Regions from separate parts of the Homo sapiens genome. Here all the other regions are linked to region 1. Evidence: promoter capture Hi-C in 16 types of primary human blood cells and fetal thymus (Javierre and others, 2016). All regions are on one chromosome and are shown on one strand. Each heading gives the region's core, a stretch centred on a gene start or on the middle of the fragment in contact. The rest is flanking DNA. Distances are from core to core; before and after follow the strand shown.

What was found. Contacts are between HindIII fragments. The CHiCAGO score rates a contact against its expected background, and 5 or more counts as called.
Region 2: the fragment with the promoter of TXLNA here is called in contact with the fragment with the promoter of ADGRB2 in region 1 in 7 of 17 cell types (fetal thymus, megakaryocytes, non-activated CD4 T cells and 4 more); the score reaches 11.5 in fetal thymus.
Region 3: a fragment that was not itself captured here is called in contact with the fragment with the promoter of ADGRB2 in region 1 in 1 of 17 cell types (fetal thymus); the score reaches 5.0 in fetal thymus.
Region 4: a contact is called between a fragment that was not itself captured here and the fragment with the promoter of ADGRB2 in region 1, in 1 of 17 cell types (fetal thymus). The highest score is 6.5, in fetal thymus.

What each region holds. Positions count from the first base shown.
Region 1 is chr1:31,762,744-31,766,132 of GRCh38, forward strand. ADGRB2 (adhesion G protein-coupled receptor B2) reads right to left here and starts at 1,597. Exons shown (of 33, transcript NM_001364857.2): 1 at 1,141-1,597. RefSeq lists an enhancer at 1-68 and a silencer at 10-279. The HindIII fragment of the contact is 4,434 bases long and covers 1-2,153 here.
Region 2 is chr1:32,178,080-32,181,468 of GRCh38, forward strand. It overlaps TXLNA (taxilin alpha), which reads left to right and starts at 1,596. Exons shown (of 11, transcript NM_175852.4): 1 at 1,596-1,697; 2 at 2,235-2,435; 3 at 3,163-3,389. The coding sequence starts at 2,267. RefSeq lists enhancers at 774-1,533, 1,534-2,292, 2,180-2,259, 2,380-2,539, 2,550-2,599 and silencers at 1,470-1,659, 1,800-1,979. The HindIII fragment of the contact is 3,390 bases long and covers 1-2,146 here.
Region 3 is chr1:32,062,725-32,066,113 of GRCh38, forward strand. No RefSeq gene overlaps it. Among named protein-coding and RNA genes, the nearest start is that of TMEM39B, 8.5 kb to the right of the region's middle. RefSeq lists an enhancer at 1-38 and a silencer at 684-978. The HindIII fragment of the contact is 5,220 bases long and covers 1-3,389 here.
Region 4 is chr1:32,020,602-32,023,990 of GRCh38, forward strand. The region is part of intron 1 of KHDRBS1 (KH RNA binding domain containing, signal transduction associated 1); the gene reads left to right. Among named protein-coding and RNA genes, the nearest start is that of KHDRBS1, 8.4 kb to the left of the region's middle. The HindIII fragment of the contact is 1,679 bases long and covers 895-2,573 here.

The DNA.
Region 1 (3,389 bases), core at 347-2,846:
CACCGCTGATGCTCTGGCTGCGGAAACCCGGGGTTGCCCGCGGGAGAAGGGGTGGCGGGTCCCAGGCTTCGGGCAGGGGGCGCCAGAGGACGCCCAGGAGCCCGGCCGGCAGCTGGCGAGGCGGGCAGGCAGGCGGCATCTCTCGGCCCGGGCGCCCCTCCCCCCGGCGGGCAACAGACCCGTCGCCTGCTCTGCACGGGCCGCGGCGCGGAGGACTTCCCCCGGCTGTGCCCTCGGACCAAGCTGACTGCGGGAGTGGCCGCCAACTTCACAGCCTACAACCCCCTCCGGATCATGCCGGCCCTGGGGCTGCGGGAGGGTGCGTCTGGTGCCCAGCTCTATGACCAGGGGTGGGAGGATAGGGATGGGGGATGGACAGATAGACTCCGGCCAAAGATGGACACGGGAGTCAGGGATGCGGGTCCAGTCGGGATCTCAGCTGGAGGGGAGGGGGCGCGGAGCAGACACGGGGGACACGGCCCCAATTCCAAGCTGAGGGGAGGGGACTTGCAGCAAGATTGGCGAGGGAAGGCGGGACTCCGGTCAGATAGATATGGGGGAGGGGGCGCTAGGGGCAGAAATAGAGAAGAAGCATGGTCGGGGTACAGGCGCGGGGGAGGGTAGAAACTATGGGCAGACATGGATGGGGACAGGAAAGACTCCGGGCAGTGATGAAGTGGAGGAGAGGAGCAGGGTCCGGCATTCAGACCGTGACGGGAAATAGAGGGGGAGACACAGTTGAGCTGCAGGTTAATGGGGGGGCTCTAATAAAGGTGGGGGGCACACTGCCCGGATCCAGGCCGAGATAGGGAAAGACTCGAGACAGCAAGCACGGTCTGTGTCAGAATTCTGGAGGGGGAGACTTTAGCATAGATGGGTAAGAGGGTCGGTCCAGGCTGGGGGAGGGGGGGGGCCGAGATTAGAGATTCACCAGCGATTAAGGGGGCCTCGGCCCTAGGTTTGGGAGTTCCCCAGAAGATGGGGGTGGGCGAACGCTGAACGAACTCAGTTCGGGCTGGGGGAGAATTCAGCAGAGACGGGTTAGGAGAGCGCCCCGAGTCCGGGCCGGTGCGGAAACTCGGGACCGCGCCGGCAGGGCTCGGTGCGAGGCCAGGTCGGGGTCTGGGGCCGAGCACTCACCTGGGCGCCGTCAGCAGCAGGAGCGGGGGCCGGCGCTGGCGGGGGCGGCCACGGGGCGCAAGTTTGCCATCCCTAAGTCGGGGACCGGGCCGGGCGCAGGGTAGGTAGCTGCAGCCGCGCGGAGGGCCGAGGCTCCCGCTCTCCCGGGCGGCGGGTGCAGAAAAGGCGCCGCGGAGCAGCGCGGGGCGGGCGGGCGGGCGGCGCCGGGCCGGGCGCGGGCTCCTGCCGCCGCCGCCGCCGCCGCCTCCTTGCCGCGCCGCCCCCCGCTCCCCCGCTCCCCCGCCCCGAGCACCGCCCGCGCCGCGCGCCGCCTCCTATTTGCGGGCGGCGGCCGCAGCCCCGGGCTCTGAGAGCCGGTGCCGCATCCTCTTCGGTCTCTGAGCGCCGCCGCCGCTGCCGCCGAACCCGGTTCCTCCGGCCGCTCCGGCCGCTGCCCGCAGCGCGCGCCGGGCCGAGTGACGGCCGAGGCGGGACGCGGCGCCTGCGCGGGCCGGGCCCGGGAGGGGGCGCGCGCCGGGCCGGGCGCGAGGAGCCGCGGGAGAAGGGGCGGGGGCGACGCGCGCCGCCTCCTGTTAAAGGGGGAACAGCGCCAGCCGAGCCGATCGTGCCCCCCACCTCCCCGCCTTGGGCCCCAGGCGCCGGCGCGGGAGAAGCCCTGGGTAAGCCCCCGCCCAGCCCGCTGCTTCTTGGACCGCAGAATGAGGCGATCCGCGACGCCCCTCCAGCTATACCCATGCCGGAGGCTTGTCGCGCCGCCAGGGTGTCCCGGGCCCTGCAGGCTGAAGCATTTGCTCACCTTCCCATGTGCATTGCATATTGCATGTCCCTGTGCATGCAGGTGCCAGTCATGTGCGCTGAACTTTGCATATGCATACAGGTGCCCTAAGTGTGCACTGCCATGTTGCCTGGGTAGGTGCATGCAAGTGCCACACACATGCACGGTGTATTAACATGTGCCCAAGTCCTGAATGCATGTTGCTTGTTCCTGTGCGCAGGGATGTTATATGTATGCAAGCTTACAGGTGCCACATGTGTGCTGAGGACTGTGGGTAACTCATGTAGCAGCCACATATGTATACTGCAATGTGACATGTTTGATGCATACTGTAAACTGCAATGTTGCACGTCCTTAGGCACGGGGATGCTACACGTGTGCAGTGTGTTACATGTTTTCCTGAGTCCCTGTCTATTCCCACAAGTGCCTTTCCCTGTGCCAGGGGCGCCCCCATGTTGCATCTGTTTGTGTAGAAGCAGCAGAGATGTACAGACCCACCCCTTCCCCATCTTGGCACTAAGCCCAGAAACAGTTGGGTGGGGCCTGAGCCCTCATGGTTCAGGCGGTACACAGGGAGATGCCCATGGTTCAGGGCTCTGGTCAGGCAGTTTGTGGCCTGGGCATGTTGCCATCAGTAAGGTAGGCCGACCAGGGACGCACCATTGCAGCCAACACAAGTAGGTTAATCCCATGGCTTTGGTCAGAGGAGAAACCAGCAGGGGGCAGCTTTGCAATAAGGGTGGGATGGTTTCAGCTTTGCGATGAGGGTGGGATGGTTTCAGGACCATACTTTTTGAAGGTTCACTAGCCAGGAAGGGCCAAATTTTCAGTGCAAAGAAGTCCTCATTTCAGCAAATACCAACCCCACCTCTCCACTGATGCCCCTTAAGTTGTGGCACCCTCAAGATGGGGCAAGAAGAGAAAAGCCTACCTCTTCCCAGGGGCAGTACCAGGAAGAGGCATAGAACCGCCCTCTTTTCCCTCCTTCTGTCCCTCCCACCTCCAGCAGCCTCGGTGACATTTGTTGTGAGTGATTGTGAGAGATTATCAACTTTAATGGAAGGAGGTAATAAGGGACGATGAAGGAATCTCACCTGTCACCTTAAGAGAATTTATGAGGCCTTATGAGGCAGGGAGGAGGGCTGGGCCGGCACCTTCCCTTTCGCTGCGGATGCCCAAGGAGGCCTGTGCCTTGGGCCTAGCACTGGCAAGCAAGGCTCCTAGGGTTTGCTAGGCACCCTCAAACACAGTCAGACATCTCTGGATTTCAAGGCTCAGCTACTATGTGAAAGCCAGGCCAGGCAGGCCTTGCCAGCTGCAAAGTATGTTGAAAGCCACCCCAGGGCAGTGGGAAATCCGGGCCCCCTCCTTACATGGGCACTGGGAGGGGGAATGGGGTTGCTAGACTGGGGCTTCAAGGAGGTAGGCAAAAGTGGGGAAAATGGTGGAGACATGGGTTGCCCACAAGGATGCA
Region 2 (3,389 bases), core at 346-2,845, 420 kb after region 1:
CCTTGTTATATGGAAATCTATCAAGGCCTGATTTATATGGTGCCTTCTCAAGAGATTTCCAGAATGCTTTTCTAGAAATAATCAGGGCCTTGGTTTCAGGACATCTAGATTCCAACCTTTCTGAGCCTCAGTTCCATCATTATACTAAAAATTGAATATCTCTTATCCAACATGCTTGGGACCAGAAGTGTTTCCAATTTGGGATTTTCTCAAATTTTACCGGTTGAGCTTCCCCAATCTGAAAATCTGAAATCCAACATGCACGGCTCTGAAGTCTTTCACTGAGCCTTTGGGGGAAATATTTAACATCCTAACAGCCCTAAACCAACGCTCAATTAGCACAACAGTTTACAATCTTCTCTACCCACAGCCTGATGCGAGGCTCTGGGACTAGACTATTTAGCCAACAGTTCTTGCAAAATTAACTGACTTATAAGTAAATAGTAATTTCAACACCTCACTGCTAATGCTGTAACAACTCTGCAGACCTAGGGAGCAAGTACGGTTTGCAGAGCACTGGGAAGGCTCTGAAGTGACCTTTGAACTGGGCCTCAAAAAATTTTGGGTTTGGCAAAAGTCAAATCTCTTAGGCTTCAAATTCCAGGCACAAGGATTGTTGGGTTTGATTTCATTATCCAGAAGCAATGGGGATACAGAATTGTGATCTCATGTGTAGGGAACTGTGGGGGTTTTTTCTACTTTAACCCCAGTGAGACTTTGTAGAGTGTGGGGTAGAGAAAAGGCTCATGAATATGCCTGAAGCCTAACTCAGCACCTTTCTGAGGAACTGACTGCCAAAATGGTAATGGAGAGGGGAAAATATGACCTACTTTCACAAGTTACCTTGACTGCCTCAGGGAAACCTGCTGTGGTAGTGTTTCTTCTGGGTGAAAGACCAGGTAATTACCTGGGTGCTGGTCTCAGACTTACCAGTTTTGAATCCCTGTTTTAACCACTCACTATCGATATGACCTTGGATAAGTTACCTAACCTTTCTCTTACTGTCCTTTTCCGTAAAATGGGGATAACAGATAGTAGTTATTTCTATGAGTGGTTATGAGAACCAAGCTATTAGATAGCGGGAAAGCACACAGTAAGCGTTCAAGGAACTGCTATTGTTATTAAAAGCCTCCTTTGGAAGAAGGACATTGAGGCCCAGAGAGAGAACAGAACGTCCAGCCACACAGCAAATCCGTGATGAAGTTGGGACTGGAGTATGGGTCTCCTGAGTCTCAGCCCAGGACTCTATCCCTCTTCCCGAGTCCTCGGAGTTCCCGGATGGAGTCACATTTGTTCACGGCCAGGGAGGAAGGTTTGATGGAGGCCTGCAGGAAACAACAGCCAGGCGCAAGGCTTTGGGAGTTGAAGCATAGCTTCTGCGAGATAGAAACAAGGTTGACATGGGCACTCGTGCAGAATGACGGGCTCCTTTTGGACTCCCAGGACTACAGTCCCTTATGCACCTTGGGATCTGCGGCTAGCCCCTGCGTAAAGAGGGACGCGTAGTCTTTTCCCTGCCCCGCCCTGCCGGGGCGCCCGCCTCCGAGGCCGCCCTCGCTTCGTCCTTCCCAGCAAGCTCCGCGCCGGCGCCGGCTATTGATTGGCTGAGGCGGGAGCAGGCGGCTGGCCGGCAGCAGTTACTCGGGGTTTCCGGTGCGAGGCCAGAGGTGGGGAAGCCATCGGACGTCGGCGGTGAGGTACGTGCAGCGGCGGCCGGTGGGCGAGACTATTTGAGAGTGTGCGGGCCGGGATGTTCTCGGCCTGTGGGGAAATCACGCCAACTCCCCGCGTGGGCCGGGGGCTGTCTGGGGATATGCGCATGCGCGGGCGTGCCTCGCGGCTTGAGGGCGCGCGGGGCGTGGGTGGCTGCGCGCGCGGGGGGCGCACGTGGGGCCTGAGGGGCGGGGGCGGTGCCGGGAGTCCCGCCACGTCAGTCTCCGGCCCTGAGCCAATCCCGCGCCCGGCCTGCCGCGAGGGGGCCGGTTGTGCCGGGAAGTGGCTCCAGGGAGAAGAGGCCTCTTCCCTCACCCGCTGTGGGAGCTGCGCCCCGAAAGCCTGCCCCGGCACGTCGGGCTCTCCTGACCCGCCAAGACCAGAGAGCCGTTGGCGCCCTCCGCCCGGGCCTGCCGGTCCGTTTATTTTAAGAAGCTTTGTGCGCCTGCTGTGGGGATTTCTGATCCAGGCTGCGAAGAATTTCGAAGTCTGGAAAATAGCAACTGTGTTTGTTTCTAAAGGATCTTCTCCTGACCCAGCATCGCTCATCACAATGAAGAACCAAGACAAAAAGAACGGGGCTGCCAAACAATCCAATCCAAAAAGCAGCCCAGGACAACCGGAAGCAGGACCCGAGGGAGCCCAGGAGCGGCCCAGCCAGGCGGCTCCTGCAGTAGAAGCAGAAGGTCCCGGCAGCAGCCAGGCTCCTCGGAAGCCGGAGGGTGTGTGCCAGCTCTGCGTTGCCAGCGGGCAGGGGGAGGAGCTGTGGGGTCGGCCTCGCTTCTGGACTTACAGGCCGAGGCCAGGTTGTCCGGGAGGAGGAGATGTAGAATGAGAGGACAGTGCTGGGGGCCGCGGTCCCCCCTGCGCTCTGGCGAGTTGGCGGAGCTGCCCCCTCTAAGCACAGGAACAGAGTTCTGGAGAGAAGCTCCGACGGGATTAAGTCAGGTGGCAGCCAAACGAGGCACCCAGTCAGGAAATCCAGGTCCCGTTAGAAACACCTCAGCCACCAGCAGCTAACTGCCCTTCCTGTTTGAGGCATTTCTAGAATGATCTGAATGGCAAGAAATGGTTTTGTGGGGGGGAAGGAGATGGACTAGAAGTTGCTCCGTGCCATCCCTGTGTGCTGATGCTTTACATACTTTTATGATCTAACAAATATGTTCGGGTGGTAGTGAGAAATAGTTGTGTCATTTTACAAGTAAACAGACTTAAAGAAGTTAGGCAACGATTACTATAATTTCTTGATTTAAAAGATGTTTCGAATCTAAATTCTGACAGGAACTAGATTTGCTGAATGATACTCCATTCTTGCTTCTCAGTTTCCATAAAAAAAAAAGTTAGGCAACATTTAACTCAAACTGATGAGTTTGGCTGGGCCTGAAAAATCCCAACCAGTGGTATAATCGTCTTCTTTCTCACTCTACCCCTCATCCTCTCCTGCTGTAGGGGCTCAAGCCAGAACGGCTCAGTCTGGGGCCCTTCGTGATGTCTCTGAGGAGCTGAGCCGCCAACTGGAAGACATACTGAGCACATACTGTGTGGACAATAACCAGGGGGGCCCCGGCGAGGATGGGGCACAGGGTGAGCCGGCTGAACCCGAAGATGCAGAGAAGTCCCGGACCTATGTGGCAAGGAATGGGGAGCCTGAACCAACTCCAGTAGTCAATGGAGAG
Region 3 (3,389 bases), core at 484-2,983, 300 kb after region 1:
GAGGTAGGGCTGGCAGCCTGGGGCCTGGCAGCAGAGCTGGCCCTGGAGGAGTGGGTATGAGGCCTGGCCAAGAGCCAATGCTTGCAGCTTGACAAGCAGGCTGTTGCTCTACCTGCTTGCCTTCCCTTTCCTCAGCCCCTCAGAGCCACTCCTATTGCCTACAGGCCCACTTCTGCCCTTGGCTGCTGCTCTTCGACCTCAGGTAAATTGTTCAATGTCCCTAGGCTTTCATTTTAACATTCGTAACAAAAATCCAAGAAAGCAAAGGAGGTTTTGTAAAAATGCTGTAAGATGCCAGGCTAGTGAATCATGATTGGAGAAGCTAGGTCCCACTGCCCTTTCTGATAGACCTAAAGGCTGAGGTCTTGATGCCATGTGGATGTCACCCTAAAGACAGCTCTTAGATATGCCACTCTCTCCCCTTCCTCCTTCCCCACGATGCACCCCCTGCTCTTTAGAAATTTTCTAAAGTTCCCGGGCCAGCTAGATGACCTGGCCTGCCATGGGGTAGCCCAGGAAGGAGTTGGGCCTGGTGGCTTATGAGCAGAGTTGAGAGTCTCTTTTGCTTGAGATACAGAAATTCAGGTCCCTAAACTAGATCTGGCCCTCATCCTTACCCACCTCACCTCTTTCCTGGTGACCTTACATCTGGCTAGCTGCTAAATTCTAGGTTGTGGCAGCATGCCCCACCCCCTCTCCTTGGGATGGGTCTAAGAAGGCCCATAGAGGAGGCACTGGGATCCATTCCCTACCCTACCATTGAGAATCGCTGCAGTTGTATCCAGGATTCCACATCTTATGCCCAGCTTAATTTCTCTGTTGTACTTGGAGTTGAGATTCCTTTGTATCAGGCTCTCTCTGGTGGTTAAGATGTGCATTACAGAAAAATAAGATAAATGAGAGACTGAATTTCAGGCCACCCTGAGAGGTGGGGATAGTTTACACTAAGGAAAAGAATCTGTGTCTCCAACTCCTAATAACATCTGCTCCATTTGTCACAGGATATCTCTCCCATGTGTTTGCTTCTCTCCATTAATCCTCACAACATAGTAATTTTCCTAATTGTACAGATGAAACAGGCTTAGAGAGTTGAAATCAAGTCCAAATTCTTTACTGTGTGTAACATTCAGGATCATCAAGTGATCTGAATTGAACCTATTTTTCCAACCTCATCTTCAGTTATTCTCAAGCCAAACTAGACTCACCCTTCTGGAACATAGCCTACTTTACAGTTCTCTCTATCTTAATTACCTTAAATACATTACCTGCCAAAATCTTATCTCTTTTTAAACTAAAGAAATGTGACATTTTCTGGGTTTTCTATAGTTTACATATATTTGTAATATAAGATGTGGGAAGACAAATGTCTGGATAAGAATGGGGGTAGGGGGATTGCCTGACAGGTGGGAGGTTGTGTGGGGAGACTAATGTATACATGGAGTGAGAATGGCCCAGGAAACTGGAAGAACATGAAGACACCTGGATTCTCTGGTATTGAAAATCAGATGTAAGTATTCTTGCTGGCAAGAGAAGGTGAAAGCAAATCCCTGGTGGGCTGGGACCGGGCTGCAGGTGACATTTTTTTCAAAGCCTTCAATCTTAAATTCACATTAGTTTGTTTTGTTTGTTTGAGATGGAGTTTTGCTCTTGTTGCCCAGGCTGGAGTGCAATGGGACGATCTCGGCTCACCACAGCCTCTGCCTCCCGGGTTCAAGCGATTCTCCTGCCTCAGCCTCCTGAGTAGCTGGGATTACAGGCATGTGCCAACATGCCCGGCTAATTTTGTATTTTTGGTAGAGACGGGGTTTCTCCATGTTGGTCAGGCTGTTCTCAAACTCCCGACCTCAGGTGATCCGCCCGCCTCAGCCTCCCAAAGTGCTGGGATTACAGGTGTGAACCACCGCGCCTGGCTTGTTTTTGTTTTTGACACAGGGTCTCGCTCTGTTTCCCAGGCTGGAGTGCAGTGGCACAATCTCAGCTCACTGTAACCTCCACTTCCCGGGTTCAAGTGATTCTCATGCCTCAGCCTCCTGAGTAGCTGGGATTACAGGTGCACAACACCACACCTGCCTAATTTTTGTGTTTTTAGTAGAGGTGGGATTTTGCCATGTTGGCCAGGCTGGTCTTGAAGTCCTGGCCTCAGGTGATCTGCCCATCTTGGCCTCCCAAAGTGCTGGGATTACAGGCGTGAGCCATCATGCCCAGCCCACATTAGTTTACTTTGTACTTTACAGTATATCCATGTTTTAATAAAAATAGCTAATGCTTCAATAGCACTGAATGTATGTCAGGTTCTAGTCTAAATACTTTACATAGATTCTCAAACCCATAAGGCTTGAGGAAACTGAGACCCAAAAAGGTTAAGTAACTTGCTAATGTCATACAGCCAGTAGGTGATGGGGCTAGGAAGTCTGGCTCCAGAGAACGTGTTCTTAATGACTGCGATTTGATGTTGAAAATTCTGCCTTACAGGCCGGGCGCGGTGGCTCACGCCTGTAATCTCAGCACTTTGGGAGGCCGAGGTGGGCAGATTACAAGGTGAGGAGATCGAGACCATCCTGGCTAACGTGGTGAAACCCCGTCTCTACTAAAAAATACAAAAAATTAGCCAGGCCCGGTGGCAGGCACCTGTAGTCCCAGCTACTCGGGAGGCTGAGGCAGGAGAATGGCGTGAACCCAGGAGGCGGAGCTTGCAATGAGGCGAGATTGCGCCACTGCACTCCAGCCTGGGCGACAGAGCGAGACTCCATCTCAAAAAAAAAAAAAGAAAAAGAAAATTCTGCCTTATATTTCCATTGAATAAAACTGACATTCCAGAAAGCTGCATTGTGTTTTATCCTGTGGATTCATCACTTCTGTGTACCACCAGAGGTCTGCATAGTCTGGTCTGAAAACTGCTGATTTAAGGCCAGGCGCAGTGGCTCATGCCTGTAATCCCAGCACTTTGGAAGGTCGAGGCGGGCGGATCACCTGAGGTTCAGGAATTCGAGACCAGCCTGGCCAACATGGCGAAACCCCAACTCTACTAAAAATATGGAAATTAGGCATGGTGGTGGGCGCCTGTAATTCCAGCTACTCAGGAGACTGAGACAGGAGAATCGCCTGAACCCGGAAGGCAGAGGTTGCAGTGAGCCGAGATCGTGCCATTGCACTCCAGCCTGGGCAACAAGAGCAAAAGTCCATCTCAAAAAAAAAAAAAAATGCTGATTTATAGGACAGATTTGGGCCAGGTGTGGTGGCTCCATTTTGTAAACCCAGTGATTTGGGAAGCCCAGGCAGGAGGATCATTTGGGCCCAGGAGTTGAAGACCAGCCTGGGTAACATAGTGAGACCCTGTCTCTACAAAAAAAAAAAAAAAAAAAAAAAAAATTTTTTTTCTTTTGAGATGG
Region 4 (3,389 bases), core at 484-2,983, 260 kb after region 1:
ACAGTACTGTGCAATAAAAAAAAAAAAAAAAAGGAACTGTTAATAAATGCAGCAACTTGCTTGATCACAAGAGAATTAAGCTGAGTGAAGAAAGCCAATCTCAAAAGGTTACATACTATATGATTTCATTAATATAACATTCTTGAAGAAACAGAATAGTGGAGATGAAGACTATATTAGTGGTTGCCAGTGGTGAGAGATGAGGGAAAACGGTGACTGGCTATCAAAGGGTAAGGATCCTCATGATGGAACTGTTCTGTATCTTGACTGAGGTGGTGGTCACATGAGTCTGATTAAATTGCATAGAACTAAGCAAACAAGTACATGTAAAGGTGGTGAAATCCTAATAAAGTCAATTGTTAATTTTTTTTCCATGAAACCTGTACAACAAATTTTCTTATTTTAATGTTAATTTTCTGATTGTGATACAGATATGCAAAATGTTATGGGGAAAACTAAAGTATACAGGATCTCTGTTATTTCTTAGAACTGCATATAAATCTAAAATTGCCTTAAAATTAAAAAAAAAAATTTTCAAAGTTGCAAAGCTCTAAATTGTGCACTAAGGAAAAGATTTGGGAGACCATAGTCAATATGACAGAGTTTTCTACTGTCCTGGAATGTAAAAATTGAGCCCATATGAAAGGGCTTGTAACAGGCCTTTGGGGGATTTTTTTTTAACCAATACCCAGCCTTTCTATACCCATAGCCAATATTGTATATAATATATTATGAGTTTATATTTTTTTCTGGGTTGCTAATCAGTAGCTTCCATCAAATTCTCAGAGGGACCCATGATTCCAAAAAAAATAAAGAACCTATTGGCTTTGTGCTCTTGCTTGAAACAATAAGTAATTTGATAAATAAAACAAATGAAGTTGTTTTGCAATAGTAAGCTTATGGGACTTCTGATTCCAAAAGATGATACCAACAGAAAAGTTGAGAATTATAAATTTGGGGATGATAAAGTCATGTGAGTTGTTTAAGGGAAGTTGAGGGTGTTAACCATACTTTTTTGTATTTGTTTTTTTTTGAAACAGGTTCTCACTATGTCACTCAGGCTGGAGTGCAGTAACGCAATCTTGGCTCACTGCAACCTCTGCTTCCCGGGTTCAAGCGATTCTTGTGCCTCAGCCTCTCAAGTAACTGGGATTACAGGCGCATGACACCACACCTGGCTAATTTTTGACAGGCAGGCGGCACCACGCCTGGCTAAGTTTTGTATTTTTAGTAGAGACAAGGTTTCACTGTGTTGGCCAGGCTGGTCTTGAACTTCTGACCTCAGGTTATCTGCCTGCCTCAGCCTCCCAAAGTGCTGGGATTATAGGCGTGAGGCACCACACCCAGCGGCACATTTCTTTTTTTTTTTTTTTTAAGGAGATGGAGTCTTGCTCTGTCACCCAGGCTGGAGACTGGAGTGCAGTGGCATGATCTCGGCTCACTACAACCTCCACCTCCCGGGTTCAAGCGATTCTCCTCTCTCAGCCTCCTGAGTAGCTGAGACTACAGGAGCGCGCCACCACGCCCAACCAGTTTTTAGATTTAGCTAGAGTAAATCTTTAAATCTTTAGTAGAGACAGGGTTTCACCATAGTAGAAACAGGGTTTCACCATGTTGGCCAGGATAGTCTCGATCTCCTGCCCACCTTGGCCTCCCAAAGTGCTGGGATTACAGGTGTGAGCCACCGCGCCCCAGCCGGTACATTTCTTTTAATTCGGTTAATGATTATAGATGCCTGTTGTGTATCAAGCATTGTACTGTACTAAGAATTACAGACACTCAGCAATGGAAGGAGTCCAGAGATTGTTAACAACAGGCAAAGGAGGAGTGCTGTGTTTAGAAGTGTAGAACCAAGTATAGTGGGAGTCTAGAGGAGGGTATGAAATGAACCCTGACCTTTTAGAGCAGTTCTGAGAATCTTGCTCTCCTAGAAATACTCGCTCTGGATACTTAGAAAATCTTGACCATTGTCTTGTTCCTTATGCAGGCCATATCAAACGTTCAGTTGGCCGGGCGCGGTGGCTCACGCTTGTAATCCCAACACTTTGGGAGGCCGAGGCAGGTGGATCACAAGGTCAGGAGATCGAGACCATCCTAGCTAACACGGTGAAACCCCGTCTCTACTAAAAATACAAAAATTAGCCAGGTGTGGTGGCATGCGCCTATAGTCACCAGCTACTCGGGAGGCTGAGACAGGAGAATTGCTTGAACCCGGGAGGCGGAGGTTGCAGTGAGCCAAAATTGCGCCACTGCACTCCAGTGTGGGTGACAGAGCAAGACCCTGTCTCAAAAAAAAAAAAAGTTCAGTTAATGATATATTTGTATTGATTTTTTAGTTAAGCCAGACCAGTTGATAAAGTTGGTATATAATTTTCCCAGACTTCTCTAATATTAACTTTTTTTGTGTGAGTTACATCTCTTTTTCGCCCTCTCTCTTTTTTTCTTACTATTTTTCTTATTAACATTCTCTTTTAAAGTCATACACCAAGCATGTAGGAGAGCTGGGAATCAAACCCACTTTGTCTAGCTTCAAAACCCTTGTCTTTCCTCCAAGATATATTAAGCAACGTGGAAGCTTATAGTCTGGTTGGGATAAAATCTACAAAAAAAACAAAAGTGGGGGGTGGGAAAGGTTAAGTTATAGTAAAAGATGAAGGAAATTTTGAAAGGTTAACTGAATTTACTTTCTTTGGTATAAGAAGTGACTTGGGTTTAAGTATCTGCTATGTCACTAATTAGTTTTGAGATCTTGGACAAGTTATATAGCTTTTCTGAGCCCGGGTTTCTTCATCTGTCAAATGAAGATAATACTGGTTACAAAGACAAAGTGAAATAATAAATACAAAATTCCTGACGCATAGAAGGCATTGGATAAGATATGATTATTCTGAGTGGCTGGGAAACAAATGGGTCACCTCTTGTGTTGTTTACACCTCAGCTTTGTTTTCTTTGGCCCTTGGGATATCCAAGGTCTCCAGAGACCCAAGCAAAGATTACTTAAAGGAGTCAGTTCCAAAAGGGTTGTCTAGAAAGTACTTTTGCCTGAGGTTAAACCATTTTTAGGAAGCTCCTCCTTGATTTTTTGTCTTCCCATTTCAGTCTACTCTAGCTCTCCGGGGAAAGCAAGGACAAGGAGAGACATACAGAGTTGAAAAAGAAAAAAGAAAGACCAGACCATCAGACAACTGAACATCTGAGACACCCATAAAGCCCTTTTATTACCTTTAGGCCACATGCCAGTGTCTGAGGGTATAAATTGTACTTAAAATTTTATAAAAGTCAGCTCTTCCTTGCTTAAATAAAGTGTGCCCCCCACAAACACACACTCATCAAGAGACAATAGGAAAAGCATGAAATTAGAAGTTAGAGGCCTGGCGCGGTGGCTCACG